Regions from separate parts of the Homo sapiens genome. Here all the other regions are linked to region 2. Evidence: promoter capture Hi-C in 16 types of primary human blood cells and fetal thymus (Javierre and others, 2016). All regions are on one chromosome and are shown on one strand. The core of a region is centred on a gene start or on the middle of the fragment in contact, and the rest is flanking DNA. Distances in the headings are between cores, read along the strand shown.

Evidence for each region. Contacts are between HindIII fragments. The CHiCAGO score rates a contact against its expected background, and 5 or more counts as called.
Region 1: a fragment that was not itself captured here is called in contact with the fragment with the promoter of LIX1 in region 2 in 10 of 17 cell types (megakaryocytes, naive CD4 T cells, naive CD8 T cells and 7 more); the score reaches 8.2 in megakaryocytes.
Region 3: a contact is called between a fragment that was not itself captured here and the fragment with the promoter of LIX1 in region 2, in 14 of 17 cell types (total B cells, naive B cells, fetal thymus and 11 more). The highest score is 10.5, in total B cells.

Annotation. Positions count from the first base shown.
Region 1 is chr5:96,868,279-96,872,069 of GRCh38, reverse strand. It overlaps a transcript of ERAP1 not described here. Among named protein-coding and RNA genes, the nearest start is that of ERAP2, 6.3 kb to the left of the region's middle. The HindIII fragment of the contact is 558 bases long and covers 1,402-1,959 here.
Region 2 is chr5:97,140,466-97,144,309 of GRCh38, reverse strand. It overlaps LIX1 (limb and CNS expressed 1), which reads left to right and starts at 1,699. Exons shown (of 6, transcript NM_153234.5): 1 at 1,699-1,815. The coding sequence starts at 1,734. RefSeq lists an enhancer at 1,683-1,752. The HindIII fragment of the contact is 8,667 bases long and covers 1-3,112 here.
Region 3 is chr5:96,851,521-96,855,262 of GRCh38, reverse strand. It overlaps a transcript of ERAP1 not described here. Among named protein-coding and RNA genes, the nearest start is that of ERAP2, 23 kb to the left of the region's middle. The HindIII fragment of the contact is 2,974 bases long and covers 175-3,148 here.

The sequences.
Region 1 (3,791 bases), core at 431-2,930, 270 kb after region 2:
AAAATAGAGACAGAGTCTATATTATGGGCTTAAAATTTTTAATTTAAAGAAAATCAGTGAAAGTTTATGTTAGTATAAAGACTCAGAGCCTTATGCAAAATATGAGAAATGGGGGTAGGGAGGGGAAATTCACCTAGTAAATGCAATCTATAGCTTCTTTTAAACTCATTCAGTTGTAACAGAAAATGAAAACATGTATTCTCAGAATTTTAAATCAGTAACTGACAGGAAGATGGTTTTTCAAAAATGGTTATCTTTTGCAATGCCTTCCACAAAGCACTTACTGAAAACAAAAACAGAAAAATGCCGCCATAAAAATCTGATGTTGTTAAAGTGGAACAGAATATTAGACAAACTTGACATTGAACAACTGCTATTTTACAGCATTAAAAATTTTTATTTAGTAGCCAAATGAAAAATGCTGGTGCCTCTGTTATTTTCTTTCCAATTACAGATTATTTAAATAACTGATGACACATTCTCAAACAGGAAAAATGATGGCAAAATAAACCAGGGTGATTCTGAGCTTGTTAAATATTTTGAAAGTAAATTTGCATGCTTTCAACCAACCGATTAAAACCAACTGATTAAACCAAATCAGTAATGTTTTGGCTTCTCCCCTACTTAAAAATTTAACTAAAAGATCTAAAAAAACTTTTGCTTCTGGCCAAGATAGAGTAGGGACTCTGATTTATTCTCCTGCTTAAAACAACCAAAAAAAGATGAACAAAAGACAGTTTACAAGACAATGAATATCAGGCAACCCAAGACAGCAATCCCTGGAGAGAAGGAAACAAATAGGCAAGCTCTGTGATTTTCCCAGCTTTCTGCCTTGAGAGAGGTTCCAGGCTGCTTTGCAGGGAGACAGAACTAAGGCAGAGCCCAGCAGATTCTTTGAGTTGAGGAGATGCAGATGAGATTCTGGGAGAGCAAGGAAACCAGAGTTCATAGGATGAATACCAAAGAGGAGAGAGCTGCAGAAAGAGACGAACGGTGTGTGGGAGGGCAGGCTTTGGAAACCTGCTGAGGATTTTCCTGGAGTATTCTGCTGATCAATGATCAATATGCACATGAGCAGAAAATAAACGTTGCCAGAAACTGAACCACTGAAAAGGATTAGTGGGAACAAAGCCTGGTGCTTGCACAGAGACAGAAGTAGTGCTTGTGCCTACCCATCAAACTGGAGAACCTCAAGATGAATGGGCCAATGGGTAGAGTGTGCTAAAGTGTCTTACCTCAGTAGTGGGGAGCAGATAAGTCTCTGCTCTGGTCCTGCCTAACAAATCTTAAAAGCAGGATCCAAAAGGATGAAACTTCTCAAGTAACTTATCTGTGTTCCAGCACAAAACTCAATAGCATAGTAATAAAAGAAAAATCCACCACCCAACTAGGCAAAAAGCTTGGTGGTGATTTTTGAACCAACTGGGTTTATTAACTCACTACATCAAGGGAAAACACCCTGGGGAGCCCTGGGGCATCTCAGAAAGAGAGTGTCAGAAAGGGGTCATTATGGGATGTTATAGGTGATTTGCATGAGAGTTTCATGGGGCAGGGCTTCGTTTTGGTTTAAATGTTCTAAGAAAGTGGGGGTGATTCTATGATTTCGTATCTTATTAAGAGATTAGACAAAGGCTAAGGCTGAAATTGGTGAAGAAACAGCAGTCATTCATATTAGCCAGGACCTGAAGATGTTTGGTCATTTTTGTGGTTTGGACAACGTTCATGTTTGCCTGTGTTCAGACATGATTATGGAGTTGGCTTGTGTTTGTCTTGATCCATCAGAGTCACAAGAGTGGTTGTGTCTGATGTTCATATTCCATGAAATTGTTTGTGTTCAACAGGAGAACACTGAGGTCTGGCTGTGAGTGCCCATTCAGCTCCTGGCTGTCAGAGACTGCCTTTCTCATTACTCTCAGCAGCTCTCAGATTTTGCAGCCCCTGGTCCTACTATCAAAAGCTTAGTCTGCCTCTTGGTTTCCTCTTCCAAATCTGCAAATGCCCCTGGGGAATTTCTGGAATCCCTCGTTCACCTCTTTGGGTTTCCAACTTTTCTAGAATCTTAGCTTAGTAATTCTTCACTATCTTTTTAGACTTTTATGCTTTAAAGATCTTTTTCTATTTTGTCTGTGTTTACAATTGTCTTCAGTGGGAGGGTTGGTCCAATTACATACTGTGCCATTACAGCAAAAGGCAGCACCCTCCCCCATCCCTGTCCCACTTGCAGATTTCCCTAAGCCTCCAAAAAGGTTTTTCTGGGCCTTTTGCCTGGGCACCCATCCTCTTCTCCGAACCATTTCAATGTGGATAGATGTCTGATCACCTTACAATAGCTCCACAGTCTTCATGGTCAGATTATTGAGGAGTTTTCACTAGACTTATGTTTAGGCTTCCCTAATTCAACACTCTTCGTTTCCTTCAGCTGTCTTCCTAACTCTCCAGAGCCATTTGACAATGTTTTTTGATATTTGAATACAGCAAAAAACCCCAAGCCCTTTGTTCCAGACAGATTGCTCCTTCTACCATCCTTTTCTATAAAAATCCTGAATCTACCTGTTATTTTCTAATAAATCTGTAAACTAAATAAATATGAGTGGGCTCATGGTTGTACTTTGGAAATATGTTGAGTAAGCTAATTCTCAACTTTCATCCAGGAGTAAATAGAGTCTTCTTCTTTTCATGAGTGTCCTCTGTTTGTACCTCTCTGAAGCCAACACTTGGTATAAAACTAGTCAGTGGAGGGTAGAGGGTGATGGGTACATACTTTTAAATAAGCAGTTATCAACTAGAGAAGTTATGGATTACAGCCTTCAGGCCATGATGTACAGTTTACCACCTAGCTTTCTGAATTTTATTGACTAATAAGACAGGTCACTCTATCTTCAGAGCAAAGCAACTCTGTGTAACCCTAGCTATGCATTTTAAATTACAATCAGTGTCATCTAGTAGCCAACCAACAAGTTCTCTTGAGCGAAGAAAGCAAAAGCAGCAGGAGCTTCATCTAGTGGTAACAAGTGTAACTGCAGAGACTCCTGTGTTGTAGAGCTAACACTGTGCAAACACACATCTTGAGGCAAATCACACAATCCAAAAAGCAATAACATTCTACGAGTATACAACCCAGACTTAAGATAATCAGATTTATAGGTAGGCTTGGATTTCGATATATGAAGTTGAGGACTGGGGGTGAGAATTTTTATGATACCATTACTAAATCTAATTTGAATGCTTGAATAACTATGCATTAGTAGAGCCTAGGGCAGTGATTCTCAGAGTATGCCTTGCCCCTCCAACAGCATCAGCAGCATACTGAACATTTGTTAGAAATGCAAATTCTCAGTCTTTCCCAAATGGAATTAATTGGAAACTCGGGGTGACGTCTAGAAATCTGTATTTTAACAAGCTTTTGAAACGGTTCTGATACACACTAAAATTTGAGAACCACTAGCCTAGGGTTAGGAGTTCAGGATCTTAAATAAAACATTCCCTCTTTATATCCCAGCTCAATTCCTGAATGGCTGAGTGGACTTGGGCAAGACACTTTTTCTCTAAGTTTTAAGTTCCTCATTTATCAAATGTTGGGAAAATAGCACAAACTTCATAGGGCTGTTGTGAGAATGAAAAGAGATATATCTGTGTTGCCTTAGTCAAAGTTCCCCACAAAAGACAGCATAAGGCAAAGTTTAGGTATTAATGCTCTACTGAAGGAGTGGTAGGTTGTATTTCCAAGGATGGCCACACCGATAACCAGTCTCATTTGCTCTTGTTAGTGAGGTCTCTGTTTCCTCCCCTTG
Region 2 (3,844 bases), core at 450-2,949:
GATCACTTGAGGCCAGGAGTTTGAGACCACCCTGGGCAACATGGTGAAACCCCCTCTCTACTAAAAATACACAAATTAGCCAGGTGCGGTGGCGTGGGCCTGTGGTCCCAGCTACTAGAAAGCCTAAGGTGGGAGGACCGTTTGAGACTGAGAAGTCAAGGCTGCAGTGAGCCCGGATCATGCCATTGCACTCCAGCCTGCATGACAAAGTGAGACTCTGTCTCAAAAAAAAAAAAAAAAAAGGATACAGCTAGGGACTAAATTAAGCCTTGCATTTGAATTCAGGAGCCACTCTTCTGGAAGCCAAGGCTTGTTACCCCCCACAACCCTCCCAAATTTTAGTCACTTCTATTGGGCAGGGGCAAGTAAAACCTGACAGACTGTCTTACAGCTTGCCTGGGAACATTTGTTTCCCTATTTACCCTTCAAAGTGAATCATTCCCAAGGTTGACTTTAATTAATTCTGATGTAATTCACTTCCTTTCACTTAATAATTATTAAAAATTTCAGGGCAGGGTGCAGTGGCTCACGCCTGTAATCGCAGCACTTTGGGGGCCCAGACAGGATGATTGCTTGAGCCCAGGAGTTTGAGACCAGCCTGGGCAACACAGTGAGACCCCATCTCTACAGAAAATTTAAAAATTAGCCAGGCGTGGTGGCGTGTGCCTCCCAACTACTTGGGGTGCTGAGATGGGAAGATTGCTTGAGTCCAGGGCTCAAGCCCCTCACTTGAGTCAAGGCTGCGGTGAGTTATGATCACGCCACTGCACTCCAGCCTGGAGGACAGTATGAGACCCTATTAAAAAGAAAAATAAAACAAAGAAACAGGACGAGAAAATACATATATGTTTCTTAAGGTAGTTATTGAAAGATTTTTTTAAAAAATTGAGACAGGGTCTTACTTTGTCACCAAGGCTGGAGTGCAGTGGCACAATCTGGGCTCACTGCAGCCTCGACTTTCCAGGCTCAAACCATCCTCCTGCCTTAGCCCTCCAAGTAGCTGGGATCACAGGCATGCACCACCACACCCAGCTAATTTTTGTATTTTTTGTAGAGTTAGGGTTTCGCCATGTTGCCCAGGCTGGTCTGGAACTCTTGGGCTCAAGCGATCTGCCCGCCTCAGCCTCCCAAAGTGCTGGAATTACAGGCATGATAAACTGCACCCAGCCCCATAATCTTTATAGCACTCCTTTACCAAAGAAGAATTACACTGAAAATTTAGATTTATAGGGATTATACTGTTAACATATAGCTGGCAGTCCTGAGCTGGAAGCTGTCTTGTCATTCAGGAAATTTCCTGGAGAAATAACCTTCCTGATTCCATATTCCTGGGGGCAACACAATTGAAGATGGAGGGCCAGAAGAAATACTCAAGTCAGAAAGCTGCACAGCATTCAGACAAAATCTGGTTGGAGAGGAAAGCTGTTTTCATAATTTAGCGAGCTTCCCCAGCTAGCCTGTAGGTGGGTGTGTTTAACAGAAGAAAGCAATGGGAACCCGCCTGTCAGCCAGCCTTTCGAGCTAATTAGCTCAGCATACAACAAAGATAAGTGAGCCTGGGAAGAGGGCCCCCTGAGGGGTCTTTAGATTCTGGGAAATGTCTGATTGGCAGATGTTAAAAGGGATTCCTTGGTAATCCAGTGCATCAATGAGCTGCAGAAATTCAGCCCAGGACTGCAAGAATTCAGGCATGAGGACACTCTGTACAGGAGGCTCACACAGGCAGACCCAAGATGGACAGAACCTTGGAATCTCTGAGACACATCATTGCCCAAGTCTTGCCTCACAGAGATCCGGCTCTAGTCTTCAAAGACTGTAAGTACTGAAGGGGGAAAAGTTTTTTGACTTTTTAGAAAATAGTCCTAAACGTCAAGTCACATCCTATTTAAGTAAGATTTCTCCTAAATCTCTGCAGTCGTATGCTGTGTTCTAAGTGATATTTTAACTTGTTCCTGACTTCAGCCAGAAGAACGATTTCATTTCACCTACAGGCATTAGGCACTGGGTTATTCTGTCAGTGATACATCTTGCTAACTACTTAGAAGTCTCTTCTACAATCCAAGACCTGCCTAAGACTTAATGAACTTTTTCTGATGCTTTTTAAGTAAAGCAAAGCTGACTGGTGTTGAGATTAAACCTAAAAATAATTTGGAAATGATACTAGAATATATCAATATTTGTTAACCTGTTTAATACTCCACAACACATATTAGCTATGTTAATTCAAGTATCGTGTTTGTCTGAAAATATTTGTTGCAAACCAGAATTAACAGTAAATCACCACTGAACTTTTAAATTTTGATAACAGATTATAATGCTTTAGTTAAAAGGCCAATAAAATGAGATGCCTCCTAACCTCAGCAACACTCCCTGTGTGGACCCCCTACCACCATCACCAATTTATACAGCATGGCAAAGTTATTTCAAAATCTTTTTTTTAATGATTTAAAAATAATTCAATCAAGATTTCCAATTCTAGCAATACTATTAAACCATTTGTCATATAACTTCGTTTCTGGAACCAATTTGATTTCCTGCTGCTGCAAAACAGACTATCTTCATGTTGTATCTTATCTACAGTGGGTTTCATATTACAAAGGGCTTCTGAAATAGAACTGCCCAAAAGGTAAAATGCATATGGAATTTTTTTTAACTTCAATAGGTTGCAGCTTTCCTCTTTGTGAATCTAGTTGTGTTTGTCTCCATCAAAACATCAATGGTTTGAATTTTTGCTTTCTGATTGCTGAATAACGTTCCATTCCAGATGTCCTCTTAGCTTAGATTTCTCATATGTATGTTGAAGAAAGAGGAATGTTAGGCCATTTAATTCTATAAATTTTTCCTCTTAGATGTTAAATTGTAACCAATCTGTCCTTTAAGGCATAAAGTGAAAGCCTTTTCTTTCTCTAGCTCTCTTTTTAAATATTGTCTTTAGGCATTTGCCAATAACTATGTTAGATCTAATAAAAATCACTCTCTCCACTACTCTAGCCTGGAGTCTATTCAGGTTTGTTATGTTTTTTAAGCGAAAAGGGGAGGAAAGAATGTCTCTCTCCTACAATAGAACTGATTCACTAGTGAGGGATAAAAGGGCTCTCGGGCTGCCCAAGCTTTGGATAAATTGTATAGGACCAGGGTTCTTATGCTGAGCATTTAAATAGGGGAAGCAGTTAAAAAAAAAATAGGGGGGACGTTTTTCACTGGCCCATTGAAAACTTAATAAGTTCAAATGTGAAACTGTATAGCTCATTTTTTAGCTGAACTAAATTGCTGCGATTGTTTACAGTTTAGAAAAGAAGATAGACTAGAAAAAGGATTACAATAAAGCATACATTAAGTTCTGTCATCCAGGACTTTGCAGGACTTCTTTTATATGGGAGAACAAATAAGTGTCCTGTTTTATATATTTCATTCATTAACATAGAACCTATATTTGACCAGAGAGCATTGCCTGTTTACCCTAGAATGGACTGCTACTCGGCAACTGCTTGCATGGCTTAATAGACGTGAATATTAAACTGCCGATTCTCTCCCTTCTTTTCTAATCTGAAAAATGACTAAATGACAGTAAGCCAAATGGCACATTTCTGTACCAGGAGTTTTCCTAACTTTAAAACATCCAACCACTTACCAATCTCGTGGAATAAGTGGGAATGGGCTGCTTACTTTCTGGGACAGGACATTAAAAGTCTGTCTGGAGCCTATGCCATTGCCCTGGCAAGCTGTAGGTGCTGCACACGCCAGAGTTTGGCATATGGTCCCATTTTCTTTGGCATACCCATAAGTTGCTGCCACCACACTCCTATTGGCAGCCTGTAAAAAGCTGCCACCAGCCTTGAATGGC
Region 3 (3,742 bases), core at 412-2,911, 290 kb after region 2:
TTGTTGTCATTATAATAATGATGCAATCATAGTCTGTTCTCCCATAATGTGTTTCTTTAATGTTAATTATCTCTACCATGACTGGTAAAGAGGAGGCTGAGGTCAGTGGAAGTTATGTGGGTTTATGCAATTTCCCCCAACATGCTAATGTTTTAAACCCATTATAGTCAAGCTTTCTTACTAATAGAGAAAAAACTTCATAATATATTAAGACTTTAAGATAAAACCTATATAATCTGCAGAAATGCCTTTCATTTGTGTAAAATGTGACTTATTTAGTGGTTTGAAAAACTGCTAGATTTTCTATATGTTAAGCTCTTTGGGGAGTTTCAAGAAAAGATGAAGCCTGAAGATATTTCTCTCATGTTAAAAAGAAAATTAATGATTAAAAAGGCTACCCTTGGATAGTATTTTAAGTTTTGGTTAAACTTCTTTCTATAGAAGTGACTGTTTCAAGGACATTCATTTTAAAAGAAAAATAAAGCATGACTCCATGGTAAAAGGCCACAAGGGTTGGAATGACTGAAATTTTATGGCAAATGCCCATGGAAATTGAACCATAATAGCATAATTTCTTATTAGGATTCTAACTGTTTGTGTTAGAGTCTTGATTTCAAACCTGTATTGGATTTAAATATCTTATTATTAATGCATTTTTCCCAAAGACCCTATTATTTTTAGTGTGCAATTTTTCCAAAATGTGAAGTTTTCTGGGGACACACATGGTATCATTGTAAGATGCCTATACTTGGCATTTGAACAAATAAGACAAAAATAAAAATTAAGAGTGCTCAGAGGTTTTTTTTTTGTTGTTTGTTTGTTTTTTCACATTGGCCTTCAATGATTTGAGTGCATAGACCTGCTCAAAGTGATTCATTTATACATCCAAGTTAAATTATGGACTGCAGACCAGTTCAAGTATGTTTACATACTTGAGGTATCTATTGAATCATAAACATAGTACTAATTTGCAACATTGACTGCAGTCTCATAATGACATTTGCCAGATAGACACTGCTAAGTGGTGTCTTTGCATGATCATCTCATTTGATTCTCATAAGAGATTTAGGAGGTTGATACTATTATCCATATTTTATAGATAAGGAAACTAAAGTAATTAGCTCGATAACATAGCTGTGTGTGTGTGTGTTTGTGTTTATTCAAGATTTGGGAGGGAAGGCAATGGTTAGAACAAGGTTATTTGACTCAGAACAAAGTCAGAAATGGCTGCATTCACAGATTTCTTTCACTGAGGTGACATCTTTCAAAACCCATCTTTTACCTGTCCTTTATAAATGAATGTTTCTTCCTCTGTGGGCACAAATGCAATTGCTATCACTGTTAAGAGCATGTATTATTTTGTTCACTTTTCTAAGGTGCAGAAAAGTCCTCATGCTTCTTTTTTTTTTTTTAGAACTTTTAAATAGCCTAAGGTTGATTGATCATACTTGTAACTGTGTCTTCTACTACCTTAGGTACTCGCTCACAAAACACATTTAAAATACTACATGAAGTGGGTGATCTTTCCAAAGCCACAGTTCACTGTGAGTTCCAAATTCTCATCTGCCACTGGCCTGTGTGCAAAATGAGTTTTGCCTTTTTAAGTTTGTTCCCTATTCTATGATGTGAATAAATACACATCATAAAACCCTTCCTGGGAGAAGATGAGTTCATTGAGCCAAATTAAGTTGATTGTAGCTGTCCTCTTACCTAAGAGCTGCTTTTATATCTCCCAGTTCTAGACATTTGTTCATCTGTACACACTTCTAACTAGAGATAAGTATATAAGGCATTGATATTGACTTTTGGAATAATGCTTTTGAAGTCGGTAGTGTACCTAAGGCAGGTTTGGCCTCTCTGTCCTGGAATCATAGAATTAGATTTACCTGCAGACTTCTCATCTCTTTCCACTATAGTCTAGATCCTGTTCTTTCCTTCTTCTGCCCTCAGGTTGCTTCAAACTGGGGCAGAGAGCAAACAACCTCTCCCCTGGGATCAGGGGCTACAATATTATCTTTAGAGAATAAAGTTTGGCTATTCCTTTGTCAGTAGGTTTTTGGACCTAAAGGCTCATTTATTCTTTCTGTTTTAGCAGAGTCTCTGGCCTTGATCCCTTATGTGCCTAATTCTGCATTTGTTGAATAAATGGACAAGTGCATGTCCTGCCAGCTCAGTCCAGTCTCCCAAGCCTGCCCCTGGAGTGAATCCAGGGGCATGATTTCTAGCAACCCAAGAGAAGGGTTTTAATAAAATGTCTGAGAAAATCAAATTTAAAGTCGTCTACAGTCTACTTGTCACTTTGCCTCATTGTGGGTAGAGTACACTCATTTTTCATGGTGGATGAATCATAAGTTAATTTAAAACAGTTTAGCCATGAAAATTCCTGTAGCATGTGCAGAAGTAAGATTAAATTTAAGGCAATAATAATTCCCTGCCAAGAGAAAATGAATATATTCATCAACGTACTTCATTTGAAAAGTAATTGAGTCACCATTTCTATTCACATTACCATCTGAACATTGTAAAGCTAAATTTAAAACTACGGGATTTTAAAATGATTTTTTGAAAAGTCTATTTTAATTGTCAGCCTTGAATATAGGACTTCGCATCTAAAATCTTGTTCTTTCAAAAGTAGGAAAGTACTAAATTTATGGAAAATTATACCATTTTTGTTATTGTTAAATAGGGAGACTATATCCTGCCCTTAAATTTTAACTAGAAAATGTGGGGAATGGAATTTTTAAAAACATTTCTTTCAAATCAAACCTAAGAACGTACTTTCCTAGGCTAGAAACCTAGATGTGTAAAAATTGTATTTAAATTTTCTTTTCTATGTCTGACTTCTACTTTGAGGCCCAAAGCCACCTGCTGATGGAGACATCAGGGTTTCTGTACTACCTGGAGGTGGGGAGGGCACTGAATATTACACACAGATGGGAGAGGTTGGAGACACGGATCTGTCCACACTCAGCATTTGTCCATGTTAGCATCCTTTCTCATAAAAACAATATTTTATCTATGTCATTTCTGCCAGATTTCATGATCCTGAGTATATAAGGCCAAAACATTTTTTAATAATAACATTTAAATCATAATAAAATGTAAAAATAATAGAAGTGGGTGTTTAGAAGTGAATCAAGTTTAAGCTTTTCCCACAGAGTAAGTTTGTTGAATGAATGAGTGAATGAGTGAATGCCTTAATTACCACGCTTTTTGGGGTTGGGGGCTATTTGCCCCTCTCTCCACATGACAGAACTGCTCTAAGTTTCTTTGCTGCTCTTCTCAGCTGTCAGACGGCTTGCTGCTTGTTTTCCACACCACCATGTCTATTCTGTGCTGTCCTTTACTCTGCCTGTTTTTTTCCTTTTGTATTTCTTCTGGCTCTTGTCCCTTTTCCCACGTGTCTCAGCTTTCCTTTATTGCCACTTTCAGTCAGAGCAGTCCTGTGCTTCTGGTGCCGGCATACAATACTTACTTGAGTTTCTTGGCTTTTCTTGACTGTGCATCTCTTACTTCAACATAGGAATAGCCTGTCATAGAATTTCTCCAGTTCCAGGGCTCAAGAGGGAGAGTGCCAGAAAATTGAGACTGTTTTCCCTGTCTTGGATTGAATTCATAAAGCAAAACCAGTGTTTGTGTGAGGGTTTGCTGTGTCATGCCTATAGGTTGTTTGGGTGCAAACCTATAGAATCCAGCCTGGGAAAAGAAAGAAACCAGAGAATAGCAGCATCAGAACAATGCT